2 separate regions of the Homo sapiens genome follow, and region 2 is linked to region 1. Evidence: promoter capture Hi-C in 16 types of primary human blood cells and fetal thymus (Javierre and others, 2016). All regions are on one chromosome and are shown on one strand. The core of a region is centred on a gene start or on the middle of the fragment in contact, and the rest is flanking DNA. Distances in the headings are between cores, read along the strand shown.

Region 1 (5,491 bases), core at 411-2,910:
ACTTTCTGAGAGTCACACAACTAAGCAAAGCTAGAGCTGGGACTCAAACCCAAGTTTCTGGCCCACAGGTCCAGTGATCCTCCCATCCCGCACGCCATCCCAGGCAGTCTACTCTTAGGGTTCTTTTCAGCTGAGGAAAGGAACTCTGGTTTCCAGAAGCTCCTGGCTACTCTCTAACCATTTACTGTCTACTCACAATGGGAAGAGGGGCTTCTCCATTCTTCTCTTCTCAGTCCAGAAAGGAGACTACCCCAGGCCTGCATCTGGGGAAAACAAGCCGGATCAGCAGTGGTTAAAAGCACAGCTCCCCAGCAGTCAGAAAGAAGTGTGTCCAACCTGCAGGCTATGCAACCTAAGTCTCAGTATCCTTCACTGTACCATGAGGATAACACTGGTACCAATTTCCTGGGGGTGTTGTGAGCATTCAATGGATGTCACATGTAAAGGTGCTTAGCACCTAGTAAACCCTGAACAGATGCCGATCATTTCACATAGGTCCACAGGAAACTCAGCAAGATCCACTGACCAGCTCTATAATCAGGGAATGTGTTAGTCATTTCATTAAGCACTCACATTATCACTAAATCGGAAAGCAAATACTCCCGTGCCCTTAATCCAACTACTTTAATGTCTCTTTTGAGGGGTGGTAGGGATGTTGCTTTTCTTCACTGATGCAACAGCCAATTTCAATACTCAATTTTTTTTTTTAGAAACTTCTGCATCCAACTCACAGTTCTCGTTAGGAGGGCAGAAGGGGAGGGTAAAATACACGGAAACTCAAGTCAGAATCACATGTGACATTGCACCCTTGGAAAAACAGCTCCTATTTTCTTACAGAAAAGTATTCTGTATGCAGTGAACCTAACAAGATGGAAAGCAATGCATACGCCGTTTATTCTGTTTAAAGAATTAGGCCAGGCAAAGTGGCTCACGCCTGTAATCCCAGTACTTTGGGAGGCCCAGGCAGGCGGATTACCTGAGGTTAGGAGTTCGAGAACAGCTTGGTCAACATGGTGAAACCCATATTCTATTAAAACACACACACACACACACAAATCGGGCATGATGGCATGCACCTGTAATCCCAGCTACTTGGGAGGCTGAGGTGGGAGGATGGCTTGAGCCCAGGAGGCAGAGGCTGCAATAAGACATATTCAGGCTACTGCACTCCAGGCTGGGCGACACAGCGAGAACCCCTCCCCACCCCCCAAAAAAAGAAAGAATTAATTTCCCATAAAACGGGGAAGGGCAGCGGGCTTGGGATCTTGCCCACAGTTCTTAACTCGAGGCGGCACTGAGTAAGGGAGGCTTTTAAAGAGCTGGAGCAACAAAACCACCAGGAAACGAGGCAACACTATGCTACAAGGGTAAGCCTTTGCCTCAGGAGCTCAGGTGCTCCGAGCATCCACAGCCTCTTTTAAGACAAGCAGAAAATACCCAAGGAGAAAAGCACCGACCACACGGCATAAAGGCCCGCTGAATCGGGGGGACGAAAAGCAGACGGCCGTGAAACTCCTAAATAATCCCTAAAAGTTAAAAGTGGCAGAAAATAAAAACAATACTCTCCAAAGACCTGCACCGACCTGCCGAAGGCCCGCGGAGTCCACTACGGAGCGCAAGCCGCGGGACACAGCAGCCAGGTCTCTCCGGAAACGCGATTGCGTGCGCGCTGCGCCCCGGGGCCGCGGCAGGGCGGGGAGAAAGGCGGGACGTCGTGGCGCGTGCGCAGTGTCCTTGGAGAGAGGTGAGCGGAGAATGGGGACAGTGGGGGCGGGGCTTGAGCCGCGGATTACCAGCACGCGCCCTGCATCCCGGGGGCGGGGAGTGAGGCGGGGCATCGCGGCTAGCGCCGTTGGCGGGGAACCGGGCGGGGAATCTCTGTGCTTCCTCAGTCCCCAGGCCCAGCACCTGCAGGGCCGACCAGCTCCAGTCCCAGGTCCAATCCTGAGTGGCCAAAAGCCGGAAACCCGGAGTTGGAATTGGATCTTGCACAAGCTGGACCACGTAAGCTGGGCCAGGCCAGAGGTGGAGGCCACCGCTGCGGGAGGAGGGCATCTGATGATTTTGAAGGACCCCATTAATAGAGGGTATAAACCAGGTGCGGGCCATCAGGGAGGATTGTCACTCTGGCCCGATCTTGTTTGTTTACACCAGGAAGGGCCTGCCTTCCACCTGCAAGAAAATATGGCAGCTGCAGAATAATGTGGCGCAATGCCAAATATCCGTTTGTTTTAGGGAGTGAGGCTACTTGAGAAGCATCTTAAATGGGGAGAGAGAGCAAGTTAAATCTGATTTCCACGCAGCTCTGTGGATTCCGAATGTCCACAGTATGATGTTATCTCCATTCCCACTTCCGAGCCGCTCCTCTTCTGTGTTTCCTGCACCACCATTCGCTCAGTTGCTCTACACTAAAATTTGCTGTCATCGTTGACTTCTCCCTCTCCTTCATCCCCTACAAGTATCAACATAGACAACTCCGATCAATATAATCATCAGTGAATAAAGCAAATTGCAGCGCATATTCTTAAAGACAAACTTTCCACTTGCAGCAGCACCTACCTTCCAGATAGCTAAATTGAAGCCCGTGTTTATCATAGCTGCTTCTAACCAGCCAGAGCTGATAATAACTAAGAACTTGCAGGAATTGCAGTATGCCAGACCTTCAATTTAATTGAAGACTTTCCTGAACAATTAATGAGACTTGTCTTAACCAGCAGGGAATGGCTTTAGGGACTCATTCTTCCCTATGCAGGTGCAAGCCTCAAACCTTAATTAGGATCATCCACCATGATCCTCGAGCCCTTCCCCACCTTATACTTGAAGAGGCTGAACCTCAGAGAATTAAATTACCTACAGTCCTGGTCACTGGTAGAGCTATTATTTAAAGTAAGGTCTAATGTCAAAGCCTGCGTCCTTAATTCTACCATATGCTGCTTCTTGCAGTGTCGTTCCTCAACCAGAACACATAGCTCTTCTGTGTAGGTAAAGTCCATCAAAACATGTCATAAAATAAATTAAAGAAATTGGTTTCTGCTCTATTTCAATTAGTACCAGAGTAAAACAATCAATGATTTGTGTTTGGGAATATTTCTAGTTGGCATTAACGTTGTTAGGAGATAGCTTAGCTCTTCACTGGGGGCCCACTGAATTATCGGAACCCTGGAACACAAATGTGTCAAAAGGGTGTAATCAAAATTATGTCAGGGAATGTTAAGTTTCTAGTCTTTGGTCACTGAGGCCTATCAGTAGGTTTGGGTGTTTTGTTTTGTTTTTCCCACAAAGAGGCTTTGAGTAAGAATTGTGTCTGGTAGACAAACACAGGTACACACACAGGTGTGTACTCACACAGCAAGAGCAGTAGAGATCATCTCCCACAACACAAGAGCTCATGAAGAAAGGGAATTGAGCTTCAATGTAAGCATTAGTTTAGCATTTTTGGAGCCTGAATGTGTTGACTTTACAAATTAAGAAGTCCCTGAACAAAAACGTCAAAAACAAATCCCAAGTTGCAGTCTGCCCAGGTAATTCATGTCTATCAAGTGTCTACAATACCAATTTCTACATCTTTGGGAGTATTTTATAGGTTTGTTTGAAGAGCAAGGTCAATAACTCTTTCCCCAAGAAATAAATGAAATCATAAAAAAAAAACCGCCTATTTTCTTAACCTAACCTATCTGCCATCTACTTCTGGATCATATTCATTGGAGCCATAAAAATATTAGCAGAAGCATATGCAGTTCTTATTATCTGCCACTGTTGGAAGCGCTTTACATATGTTAACTAACTTACACTTCATACCAACTCTGTGCAGTGACGACTATGATTATCTCCTGCTTTACACATGGAAGAAATTGAGGCACAGACTACAAGGTCACACAGCAAATGGCAGAGCTGTCCTAACTCTGCATTTGTTTCTTGCAGTGAAGAGTCTTTTTTCTGTCTCTTAGTCTGTTCTCAACACAGTGACCAGAGCACTTGGGTTAGAAGTCTGACTGTGCCATTTCTCTCCCCAAAACCCTCTGGTGGCACCCCTTTTCTCAGGCAGTGCTTTGCAAAGCCCCACACATCCTCCTCCCTGACATCAGCATCTTCTCTTTCCCCCTCACTTGTGTTTCCTTCTTGCCCTCAGCTGCTTCATCTGCCTGGAACGCCTCCCCAGACAATCTCCTGGTTCACGCCCTCTCCTCCTTTCTGTCTTTACGCAAATGTCACTTCTCAGAGAGACCTTCCCTAATCACCTGATTTAAAACTTCAACTCATCTGCATTTCCCCCGACAGCATCTTTCCTTCCATGACAATTCCCTGCTAACCTGCTCTGTAACTGGCTTAATCATCGTAGAGCCTACCTCCCCCTTTTTTGCATGTTTGTTTCATGGGAGTGATGATATTTATGCAGCATTTAGCACAGTGCCTGGCCCATAACCAGTACTCAGTAAACATGTGTTGAATGGACAAGTAGATGTGGAGTGAGAAATGAGAGGGGTGGTCGGCAGACAGGAGAACAAAGGCCACATGTACAGTTTGCCCTGGCTGTACCCTGGCTCTGGTTCTTCCTGCCTTGGCCTCAGCCAGATACACCTGTGTCCTTCTCATGTACTTACCCCCACGTCCTCTGTTGAAGCTTAGGACATCCAGAGTTGCATTTGTTTCTTGCAGTGAAGAGTCTTTTAAAATCTGAAATAGGCTGTGAGCGGTGGCTCACGCCTGTAATCCCATCACTTTGGGAGGCTGAGGCACATGGATCACCTGAGGTCAGGAGTTCGAGACTAGCCTGGCCAACATGGTGAAACGCTGTCTCTACTAACAATACAAAAAAAAAAAAATAGCCGGGTGTGATGGTGCACGCCTGTAATCCCAGCTACTCAGGAGGCTGAGATGGAAGAATCGCTTGAACCTAGGAGGCAGAGGTTGTAGTAAGCCGAGATCACTCTACTGCACTCCAGCCTGGGTGACAGAGGGAGACTCCATTTCCAAAAAAAAGAAAAGAAAAATGAAAAATTGAGTTGACATCATGGGCCCTGTGTCATTCAAAAACTCAACATTTCACTAATCAGTCAAGCTGCCCATGACTGCCCCAGGCCATTGCATTCAATATGTTAATTTATTTACCAAAGCTGTGTCTTTCAGAAGGGTTGTGTTTTTCCTTTTAGCCCTCAGAATCTAGGATAGCACCTGGCACACATGGTGAGCACTCACTTCATGGCTGTCGGATAAACAATGGAGCAAGGAAGGTGGAGATGGATGCTTACACATGGGGAATTGTATCAGGAAGGAGTGTATGTGTGATTAAAACCTGTTCTACATAAATAGAAAAGTTGATCATTCAACACATGGACGGCTAAGACTATATGCAGACTATCCATTCTCAGGAAGAAAAGGGAAGCAATCTACCTGACTTCCCCAAATGGATTCCGTATTTTGATATGAATTGTTATCATGTGGGAAATGCGATGGCCTCCAGGTATACTACCTCAGAGATCAGTGAGCAGAA
Region 2 (5,420 bases), core at 781-3,280, 3.2 Mb after region 1:
TTCTACACATGCTGTTGATGCTTCTTCCCCGCACCCGCCAACCCCCTAGCCAATTCAACTCACTTTTATTTATCAGCTTAGAATTCACTTTGTCCAGGAAGCCTTTGCTGACCACCACTTTGTCCACCACCGCCTACAATAAACTGTACTATAGCAATTCCAACCCCACCCATCACAGACCCATGATAATATAATGGTTCAGTTATCCGTATTACCCCTCATCACCACCAGACAATAAGCTCTGTGAGGACTAGGAACTAGGTGACAACTAGGACTAGGAACTAGGTGACAACTAGGACTAGCTCTGTGAGGACTAGGAACTAGGTGACAACTAGGAACAGATGACAACTAGGACTGTTGTTCACTAAATTTCAGTACTAAAACACCGGCGGAAATCCTAACTGCCATTTACTAGCAGTGTATCCTTCGACAAATTATCACTTCTGTGTTCCTTTCCTCGTCTATAAAATGTGGCCAAAGATACCTACCTCATAGGGTTATTTTGAGTATTAAATGAAGTAATGTAAGTGGCAAACAAAGTGCTATTTAAACGTTAATACAAGGAATCCAATGTTACCGCAATGCTGAGTAAACAATGTATGGAAGGGTCTGGTAAGCCCCACTCAGTGGAATTCCCAGCTTCAAATACCCCTCTAAATGAATATTAAAGATTTTTTAATTTCCTCTGTGCTTTTAATACAATAAACAATGAATGGTATATACAGAAATCAAATATATTTTAAATGCCTCTGAGGAATCAGTCATGTAACTTAAACCCAGGAGAAATTATCACAGCATGGTAAACCCAGAAGTAATAGTAAAGATAATGAATTACCCCACATTGGAGCACTTCCCTTCCTCTCATTCCACCGAAAATACCCCACAAAAAAACAAAAATCACGAATGTTCACTCTAAATACACTTGCCTACATTTTTAAAAAAGCAATTCTAATGTCCACAGGAGTTGCCAGTTACCACCTCTTGGTGACAACCTTTAATAATCCTAGAATTGGTGCTGTCCCAGTCAGAAGTGTCCAATTTTAAGGCACAGAAAGGCGAACTGGCAAACTCCCAGCTCTCCTGACACCGAATCTGGTGCAACTGCGGAATCCGTATGACAGATGACAATGCAAACCGCCAATCCCTCTGCAGCGCTCTGAGACACGTTCACTTATTTTCTAAATAAATACCAAATCTGCCATTCCCTCCTCACTCAACACACCTTCCTGGATTTTGTTTGTTTGTTTTTTGAGACAGGGTCTTGCTCTGTCGCCCAGGCTGGAATGCAGTGGAGCGATCTCGGCTCACTGCAGCCTCGACCTCCTGGGCTCAAGCTATCCTTCCACCCCAGCCTCCCAAATAGCTGGGGCCACAGGCTCACACCACCACACCCGGCTAATTTTTGTACTTTTGGTAGAGAAGAGGTTTCACCATGTTGCCCAGGCTAGTCTGGAACTCCTGGGCTCAAGGGATCCTCCCGCCTTGGCCTCTCAAAGTGCTAGGATTACAGGCGTGCGCCACCGCGCCCGGCCCCCGGTTTTCTTTAAACTCGAAGTTGCGCGGGAGGAGCGCCGCACTGGAGGTCGATGTGGAGCCTTCGGGAGTTCCTCGCGCGCCCCAGCCCGGAACCCAGGGACGTCAGGGTTGCTCCAGGGCCCCCGGCGCCCCTCGGGTCCCAGGCGCCCATCGCGGCTCTGCACACGGACGAGGACTCCTCGCCCTTCCCTCCGCGGCTGCCAGTGCGGATCTCCCTTCTTCCAGAGAAGACCCCGGGCCGATAGTCCCCGAAAGGGCCCCGCGGCCGCGCTCCTCACCTCCGCCGCCTCCTCTTCCCCGGGATCCAGACTATCTAGGTCCCAGCCCAGGGACGCGGTCACCTCCTCCAACGTCCGGCAGCCGCTCTCCACGAACTCGTTCAGCTCCTCCTGCAGCCGCCGCCGCTCCTCCACAGGTGGAGGCTCGCCCTCCATAGCTGCAGCCCACCCGCCAAGAGGAAGCGGCCGAACTGCAGACCGCACGCGCAGGCCTCTGGGAGCTGTGGGCGGGGCCACAGTCGCCACGTGACTTGAACAGCCTATAGGGAAGAGTCCCGGGAAGGGCGGGACTGTTATTTTGAGAGGCGTTTTCCAATCTTTTCTCAGCTCTTGCGTGCATTTGCTCTGGCCTTTCCAGAAAGATATTCGCCCTCCTCGACTTCCTCAGAAAAAACGGCTTATAGCTACAGAAAAGTTTTAAAAATAGTACAATGAGCTTTCGTTTAGCCGTCCTTCAGCTCATTGTTAACATTTTGCCAGGTTTGATTTCTCTCCGTCTCTTCTCTCCACATTCACAGCCCCACCCAATGATTTTTGCTGAATTCTTTGAAAGTAAGTTGCAGATTTTTCACCCCCAAATATGTTAGCATGCATGTTCTAAGAATAAGAACATTTTCCTGTGTAACCGCAATACATGATCAAACCTAAGAAAATTAGTAAGTCCATAAAATCATTTATTATACAGTTCATATTCAAATTTCCCCATTGTCCCCAAAATTATTTCTATAGCAGTTTTATTTTTTCAACTCATAAGCTATAATTAGTTATTGTCTCTTTTAATCCAGATCAGCCTCCTTCACCCTCCTTTTTAAATTATTAAATCATTACATGTTGTGATGAGCCTAGGCCAGTTGTCTTGTAGAATCTCTCTCATTCTGGATTTGTCAGATTTTGTTTCCCTCATGATTAGATTCAGTTTGAGCACTTTTGCAATACTACCTAAGAGATGTTGCCAACTCACGGGGACGCATAACTCAGTTATATTAGTAATGCTAAATTTGATCACTTGGTAAAGGTGGTGGCTACATCTCTTCATTCTAATAGTACATTTTCCTCTTAGGAATTGGTAAGCAATCTGTGGATTATACCTTGAGTCCATAAGAATAACCTGTTCCCCAACTCCTTGATACAGTCCTTCACTGAATCTGTTGTTACATTAGGAGTTATAAGTGATTCCGCAATAGTATCATGCCTTTTATGTTTATTAACTGGCATTCTTTCCACACCTCCATTTTAGTGTTTGCTTCACTATGGGAATCAAGGTGTTTTTAAAGTTATTGATTTAAGGTTTTTTTTTAATTCAATATAATATACTCCTTTAACATCATAATTCTTGTTGATGCTCAAATTGTCCCAAATGTGGCCAGTGGAAGCCACATTAAGCCATCTGTGTCTTTCATGTATCCCTATTAGTCCTTGAATGCTTTCTTGCTTTGATAACACAAGCTTAACTTTGTACATTTCCTACCCAACACCTGGAATTAGCCCTTGTAGTTTCCCCAAATGGTTTCAACTCCTAGAATCTAACCCATTTTATATTACTTTTTAAAATTTTTTCAAGCCCAAGTGTCAAACCTTGGTTTCCTTTTGCACTTTGTTTACCCATGTGAAGGAACTGTGGGGGAATTTTTTGGTGAACAATTATTTCTAAAGGCAAATAGCACGGTTCTCACTTAAAAAAATAGTCATAAGACTATAAATAGGCAGCACCATAAAATACAGAAGTGGCTAGAAGCTGGTAAGAGAGGAGTATGAAGTTAATGTATTCATACTCTGCCTACAGTATCTTTTTTTTTTTTTTTTTGAGACGGAGTCTGGCTCTGCCACCCAGGCTGGAGTGCAGTGGCGCAATCTCAGCTCACTGCAACCTCCATCTCCCGGGTTCAAGCAATTCTTCTGCCACAGCCTCCCGAGTAGCTGGGACTACAGGCACATGCCACCACACCCTGCTAATTTTTCTATTTTTAATAGAGATGGGGTTTCACCATATTGGCCAGGCTGGTCTCGAACTCCTGACCTTGTGATCTGCTCGCCTCAGCCTCCCAAAGTGCTGGGATTACAGACGTGAGCCACCGCGCCCAGCCCGGTATCCTTACTTTTTATTTGCATTTCCATAGTTAGCTGGTTGGTCTGGAAAAATGTGAGACTATTTCTGATGTGACATGACTCCTGATAAAAAGTTCTAGTGTATATTTCCCTGTTTGTATATGTGAACCAAATTAAAACTTAGCCCACGTCAAACATATCCTCTCTTCAGGATACAGCCCCATGTCATCTCAGAGCTTCATGACAACATTGGCACAAGCCTGGAGGGAGTAGGAAAGATTTGTCAATTGACTGTACTCTCTAGTTACTGTTTCAGCCCGAGGAACTGCTCTACACTGATGCTGCTGATCTGTTTTGATATCACTTTCCTGGAGTGGTCTCCAGACTCCTGTTCTAGGCTAGGCCTCTGTTATGGATTGGATTGAGTCCCTCAAAAATGCCTATGTTGAAGTACCAACCCACAATGTGACTGTATAAGGAGATAGAGCCCTAAGAGGTAATTAAAGTTAAATGAGGTCATAAAGGAGGGGTGGGTACTCTAATCAGATAAGACTGATAGCCACCCATGAGCCAGGTTTCACTAGAAACCAGCCCTGCCTGCATCTTGAGCTTGTACTTTTAGCTTCCAGAACTGTGAGAAAATACACTTCCGTTTAAGCCGCTCACAGTCTGTGGCATCTTGTTATGGCAGGGTGAGGTGACTAATATAGTCTCCCAGCTCTAGCATAAGGAATTTCCTTCATTTTTCCCAATACAGCATTTACCACATTTTCTTCTTCCTTTTGGATTATGAGGGCTCTTTTTCACCATGTATTTCTAGCACAGACTCCATGGCTTCTGGCACAATGCATGGCACGCGAACTCAGTATTTAATGCATAAAATTAATTTCAACTCCTCCAAATTAGGAGAGGGAGTAAGGAAGAAGAGGTGAAATAAGGAAGAAAAGAGTGCTGTGGAGGAAAAATAGCCCATGCAATGAGAATGGAGGTGACTTTCACCCTAAGTACCAAAAGCCCCCAATAATTAATCTAATCTTGATTTTTGTTCTATACAATTAGCATGTTTTCCTATTTTCTATCTGTACTATAAAATTTGTATTAATATATACTGCTGACATTTGAAAGTTGTCCCACTGATTGCTTTATCTGTTTCTGTCCCCACCCATATTGCCAATGCTTTGTTGTCGGGGGCTTGTAAATTCTACTCAGTCTTCATAGTACCTAACCCAATACTAGACATGGTGGGTATTCAGTGAAGTCATGTTAATCTAATGACAAATGTGTGAATTTCAGTAGTTTCTCTTTGATCCAAAGGAATAGGCTTATACTTCCTTGTCCTTCAACAGAGAGCCAAGAACTCTTCAGAAATCATTTTCATGGGTTCCAGGACAATTCTTTCCTCTTACGGGACAAAGTGAAACACTATCTATTTTGAGGATACCCAAAAAGCATCTTAGCAACTTCATGTTTTTTCAATGCTATGATGATGACTTTTGCCAATGCTACTTGGTACTCAATGTCCAGAATAAACTAGAACAGGTTATTGACCTCCAGGCTGGC

What was found. The method cuts DNA at HindIII sites, captures the fragments that hold promoters and counts their contacts. A CHiCAGO score of 5 or more calls a contact.
Region 2: a contact is called between the fragment with the promoter of SNRNP48 here and the fragment with the promoter of TMEM14B in region 1, in 1 of 17 cell types (fetal thymus). The highest score is 5.1, in fetal thymus.

What each region holds. Positions count from the first base shown.
Region 1 is chr6:10,743,974-10,749,464 of GRCh38, reverse strand. TMEM14B (transmembrane protein 14B) reads right to left here and starts at 1,660. Exons shown (of 6, transcript NM_030969.5): 1 at 1,584-1,660; 2 at 197-263. The coding sequence starts at 219. It overlaps TMEM14B-DT (TMEM14B divergent transcript), which reads left to right and starts at 1,881. Exons shown (of 2, transcript NR_187231.1): 1 at 1,881-2,004; 2 at 5,151-5,491. RefSeq lists silencers at 1,631-1,690, 1,646-1,866, 1,701-1,930 and an enhancer at 2,051-2,100. The HindIII fragment of the contact is 12,296 bases long and covers 1-4,623 here.
Region 2 is chr6:7,586,808-7,592,227 of GRCh38, reverse strand. SNRNP48 (small nuclear ribonucleoprotein U11/U12 subunit 48) reads right to left here and starts at 2,030. Exons shown (of 9, transcript NM_152551.4): 1 at 1,815-2,030. The coding sequence starts at 1,970. RefSeq lists enhancers at 1,806-1,955, 1,534-2,273. The HindIII fragment of the contact is 5,411 bases long and covers 1-3,262 here.